Linked DNA regions of Homo sapiens: region 2 is linked to region 1. The links are contacts of gene promoters, found by promoter capture Hi-C in human tissues and cell types (Jung and others, 2019). All regions are on one chromosome and are shown on one strand. Each heading gives the region's core, a stretch centred on a gene start or on the middle of the fragment in contact. The rest is flanking DNA. Distances are from core to core; before and after follow the strand shown.

Region 1 (2,697 bases), core at 145-2,644:
ACCAAGGAGCAGGATGTGGCCTTAGGGACTAGAGGGAGCTCGGGGCAGGGGCTGGGCTCGCTGCATTGGTAGACAGGGGCACAAAAGGGGGCCAGAGGGTCTGGCTAGATGTTCCAGGGAGGTTCTGAGAAGCGGAGTGGGCTGGGAGGCAGTCAGCCAGAACTTCCCCTCCCCCTCCCACTGCGGTCCCATCCCTCCAGAACCCAGCACCAGGAGGAGTGGTGGCCCTGCAGGAGGGGCAGGGGTCGTCCAGGAAAAGACAGGGAGTTGGTTAGATGGAGGAGCAGACCTCCAAAACCAATGTAGGGGTGGGGGCAGAAGAAGATATTATGGGGTGTATGTCAATTCCACCCCAGAGGGCTCCTTTCGGTCAAGTGGGGGTGAGGTCACTCTTTGAGGGGGCGAGGTCAGAGAGGCACAGCTCCAGGGTTGGGGGGACATAGTGCTGAGGAGCCTCAGAGGGCTGGTGGGATGCAGTTCACAGCACTAGAAGGGTCTCAGAGAGCAGAGGTGACCGGTGGCAGGGATGTCAGCTTCAAGAAGGTTCCAGCCCCAGGAGAGCATGCTAGGGAGGGGGGTCCCAGCCCCAAACAGGAGAGCAGTCACTAGGCAGCATTGTGGAAAGCAGGTGGCAGTCTCCAAGGGGATCCAGGCTCGAAAGTGGTCCTACCCTCATGGAAGCACAGTGGGGAGGTCCCAGCTCCTAGAAGTCATGGGGGATGGCGCCAACCAGAAGGGCACACAGGGGGTCTTGGTCTCTAGGCGGGGGTCACAGATTCTGGGAAGCAGGCTGGGGTCCAGCCTCAAGAGGTACGGAAGGTCCTAGAAGGCACACCGGGGGTCTGGGCCTTGAATGGGGTTGTATCCCGCTTGGGGTTCTGGGGAAGCAAAGTAGAGGGTCCCCAGACTCGGGAAGTTTGCTGGGGGCGAGAGTGTCACAATTTAGGGAAAGTTCCGGGTCCTGGAAGGCTCAAAGGAGTCCGGACCTGGAAGGGGACACAGTCCCAAGGAAGCTGCGAGTTGAGGAGCGGGGAGGGGGAGCCCAACTTCAGCGGCGGTGGGTGGTAACCGCTGGGGGACTCCCAGCCCCGGGAGCCTGTCTTGGCGGGCTGGTGCCAGCCTGAAGGAGGGTCCCAGCCAGAGGAGGCGGAAACACAGCGAGGAGCCCCAGTTCCCGGGGAGATCAGCCGGGGGTTCCCAGCGCCAGAGGGTCGCCGCCGCCAGCCCGCGGTCTCTCACCTTCGAAGAAGCGCTGCAGCGCCTCCGTCTCGTCCACCACCTCCATGTCCCGCCTGCCCGGCGCACACTCCAGCCGCGGCCCCGCTACAGCCCGGCCCGGGGGCGCGGCATCGCCGGCGCGGCCCGCGCGACAGTCCCGGCTGGGCTCCGGCTACGGTCCCGCCCGGTCCGCCGCCGCGCTTGCCCCCCGCGCGTCCCTGGCCCGGCCCCTGCCCGCCCCACGCGCCCCGCCCGCCGCGCCCAGCGCCCCCTGCCGGCCCGCGCCGCGCCCAGCCCGGCCGCGGGCACCACGCTCCCGACTCCTGCAGGCGGCGCTCAGCGCTGGGCAGTCCTAGGCTTGCGGGGCGCGGGGCCGTCCCGGGTCGGGGGACGCGAGACCGTCCCAGGCTTGAGGGGCGCGGGGCCTTCCCGGGTCGGGGTGGGGGCGAAGGGCCGCTTGGCCTCTGTGGGGTCGGGACTGGAAGGGTGTGCCCTCGCCGTCCTCGCCTTCGTCTTGCACGGGACAAGATGTCACGATTCCGAATCCAAACCTCAGAGACAGCCCCCATCCCTCTCGTTAGCCACCCACACACCCCGCTCAGCAACAATAACAACCTGCATTTAGGGAACGTGTGTTATGTGCCAGGCCACACAGGCATTATCTCATGTACTCCTCACAGGCACCTTATCAAGGAGATGCTGTTGTTACCTGCATTTTACAGATGGGGAAACTGAGGCTCAATGCATTAAGGACTGCCAGGAAGCCCTGTCCTGTGGCTGTGATGATGGAAATGTTCCCTGTGTTGTTCAGTATGGTAGTCACTGGCCACAAGTGAGCACTGGAAATGTGCCTATTGAGACTGAGGAACTGATTTTTTCATTTTGTTTAATTGTAATTAAACAGTTACGTGTGGCTGTGGTATTGGACAATGCAGGTCTAAAAGCTCCTTTTTTTTTTGAGATGGAGTTCGGCTCTGTCGCCCAGGCTGGAGTGCAATGGCGCGATCTCAGCTCACTGCAACATCTGCCTCCTCGGTTCAAGCGATTCTCCTGCCTCAGCCTCCCCAGTAACTGGGATTACAGGCGCCACCACGCTGGGCTAACTTGTATTTTTAGTAGAGACGGGGTTTCCTCATGTTGGCCAGGCTGGTCTCGAACTCCTGACCTTAGGTGATCAGCCCACGTTGGCCTCCCAAACTGCTGGGATTACAGGCATGAGCCACCGCTCCCCGCCCTGCCTAAGAGTTTCAAGGTCATTAAAGTTCAGAGCCAAATCCTGGCTGCCCCGGGAATCCGAACTCTCCTTTGCCGTGGCCCTGTCTGGTATAATGAAACCTGGAGGTTCTAACTCGATATAAGTCCAGGATAAAGCGGTTGTCCTTGTGCCCCTGCCTTCACCCTTATGACTGACTGCCTCCACATCTCTGTCCTGCCCAACTTGCACAGCCTCTCGTCTCACTGATATCCCCTTCAGTTCTC
Region 2 (2,697 bases), core at 104-2,603, 180 kb before region 1:
CATATAAGGTAACATTTACAGTTTTCAAAGATTAGGATTCAATATCTTTGAGAGGCCATTTTTATCCTACCACAGTTATGGTCCTATCATGGAATATTATACAGCAATAAAAATGAATGAACTGGCCAGGCATGGTGGTTCACACCTGTAATCCAAGCACTTTGGGAGGCTGAGGCAGGCAGATCACAAGGTCAGGAGTTTGAGACCAGCCTGGCCAACATGGTGAAATCCTGTCTCAACTAAAAATACAAAAATTAGCTGGGCATGGTAGTGCAAGCCTGTAATCCTAGATACTCAGGAGGCTGAGGCAGGAGAATTGCGTGAACCTGGAGGCAGAGGTTGCAGTGAGCTGAGATTGTGCCACTGCACTCCAGCCTGGGCGATAGAGTGAGACTCCGTCTCAAAAAAAAAAAAAAAAAAAATGAACTATAGTTACATAAAATAAGGTAAGTCTTGGATATAATGTTGAGTTAAAAAAAAGTTCTAGAAGACTTTATCACTATTTTCTATTTATGTCTTTGATTTCTCTTTTATTTATGTCTTTTATTTCTTTTTAATGTCTTTTATTACATTGTAAGCCCTATAAAGCTTAGAATGTAAACCTCATAGGGCAGGGCCTTGTTTTGCTCATTGCTATACACCCTGTGCCTGGAAGAGTGACTGTCAGGCAAAGAAATACCAAACAAATAACTGCTGAATGAATGAACTATTAAAATGGATATTTTTGAAGACTGATATAAGCAAATAAAAAATCTTACAGTATAACACTAATTTTTTTATAAACCAGAATCCCAAAGTGCTGGGATTACAGATGTGAGCCACCATGTCCAGCTAAGGTGGTCTTTTTCAATTTGAAAACTCATATACTTCAGTTTTGGGAAATAATCTTGAATTATTTATTTGATGCTTTACCCCCTTCATTTTCTTTTCTTTTTTTTTTTGAGACAGAGTCTCGCTCTGTCTCCCAGGCTGGAGTGCAGTGGTGAGATCTCGGCTCACTGCAAGCTCCACCTCCCGGGTTCACGCCATTCTCCTGCCTCAGCCTCCCGAGTAGCTGGGACTACAGGCGCCCGCCACCACGCCCAGCTAATTTTTTGTATTTTTAGTAGAGACGGGGTTTCACCATGTTAGCCAGGATGGTCTCAAACTCCTGACCTTGTGATCTGCCTGCCTCAGCCTCCCAAAGTGCTTGGATTACAGGTGTGAACCACCATGCCTGGCCAGTTCATTCATTTTCTTCTGTTGCTTCTTTATTCAGATATTGAATCTTCTAAATTGATTCTCTACTTTTCTAATCTTTTCACTATTTTCCATTTCTTTCTTTCTGAAGGATATTCCCTCAACTGTGTCTTCCAACCTTACTCATTGTTTTCATTTCTACCATCATGCTTTTAAAAAATATATTATTTTCCAATAGTTTTTGTTGTTCTGTGAATGTTTACTTTCATAGAATCAGGTTATTATTTCATGAATGCAATACCTTCTTTTCTCATCCTGAGGTTATTAATGCCTCTCCTTCTTCCTCCTCCTTGCCTTCCTTCTCCTCCTCCTCCTCTTCACCTCCTCTTCTTTTTTCTACAGAGTCTCTGTTTCCTGCAAGTTGCTTTTCTTCTGCTTACTGGGTTTGGTCTCTCTTAAGGTAGAGGTTCTCCTTAGTTGTCTAATAATCCTTGATTGCTCATTATTAAGAGCGAGATCTTAAAAACTGATGGCAAGCATGTTGACTTTGAGCTGGATGGATATTTTGTTGGGTAACATTCGTCTTAGATCTCTCTTCTTGGGTTGGCCAGAGTCCCATAGAGGGGCTGTCTGGAGGGTAAAAGTCTGTCTTTACCCTCCTGGTGACTGAGTGAGTTGCCACTTTGGCTGACAAGTGACAGAAGAGGGTTGGAGGTCTTGGATTTCAGTGTGTATATAATCACTTAACCCTCTTATTCAGCTACTGGCCCAAAGACCTTCTGTTTTGCCTTCTCCAGAGAATAAATCTCCAGTGTTATGCTAGACTAAGAAAGGGGCAGTTGGCCAGTGGCATGGAGTAGAGGAGGGGACCTAGGGATCAAATTGCTTATCGGTTCGCTTTGATCTAGTGCTCTATACTTCAGTTACTACCAAGGCCAGTGGTCTCTGCTGCCACCAGCTCCTGATGTTTTGCTGCCTTGATGTAGCCGTAGTTCAGAGACATTTGTTGACATCTCACACCATAATGATAGATGTGTCTATTTTCCCCTGTAGCTTTAATTATTTTTGCTTTAAATATTTTAGGCTATTTTATTAGGCACATATTAATTTAGATGGTTATATCTATCTGGTGAATTTTTTTTAAACATTGTCATCACTTTATTATTACTGCATAGTGACCACCTCTACACTAATAATGTTTTTCGTCTTAAAGTTTGTTATTAATTTGGTCTTTTTAAGACAGGGTCTTGCTGTGTTGCCCAGACTGAGTGCAGTGGCATGATCACAGCTCACTGCAGCCTTGACTTCCCAGGCTAAAGTGATCCTCCTGCCTCAGCCTCCCAAGTAGCTGGGACTACAGGCCTGCACCACCACGCCTGGCTAATTTTTGATTTTTTGTAGAGATGGGGTCTCCCCATGTTGCCCAGGCTGGTCTTGAACTCCTGAGCTCAAGTGATCCTCCCTTCTCAGCCTCCCAAAGTGCTGGGATTACATGCATAATTCACCATGATTCGTCTT

Evidence for each region. The method cuts DNA at HindIII sites, captures the fragments that hold promoters and counts their contacts. A contact is called where the count stands out against the background at its distance.
Region 2: a contact is called between a fragment that was not itself captured here and the fragment with the promoter of MYRF in region 1, in 1 of the 25 tissues and cell types used here (spleen).

What each region holds. Positions count from the first base shown.
Region 1 is chr11:61,751,333-61,754,029 of GRCh38, reverse strand. MYRF (myelin regulatory factor) reads right to left here and starts at 1,394. Exons shown (of 27, transcript NM_001127392.3): 1 at 1,240-1,394. The coding sequence starts at 1,285. It overlaps MYRF-AS1 (MYRF antisense RNA 1), which reads left to right. Exons shown (of 4, transcript NR_026882.1): 4 at 1. RefSeq lists silencers at 1,245-1,344, 1,465-1,604. The HindIII fragment of the contact is 21,501 bases long and covers 1-2,697 here.
Region 2 is chr11:61,930,495-61,933,191 of GRCh38, reverse strand. It overlaps a transcript of RAB3IL1 not described here. Among named protein-coding and RNA genes, the nearest start is that of RAB3IL1, 14 kb to the right of the region's middle. The HindIII fragment of the contact is 6,912 bases long and covers 1-2,697 here.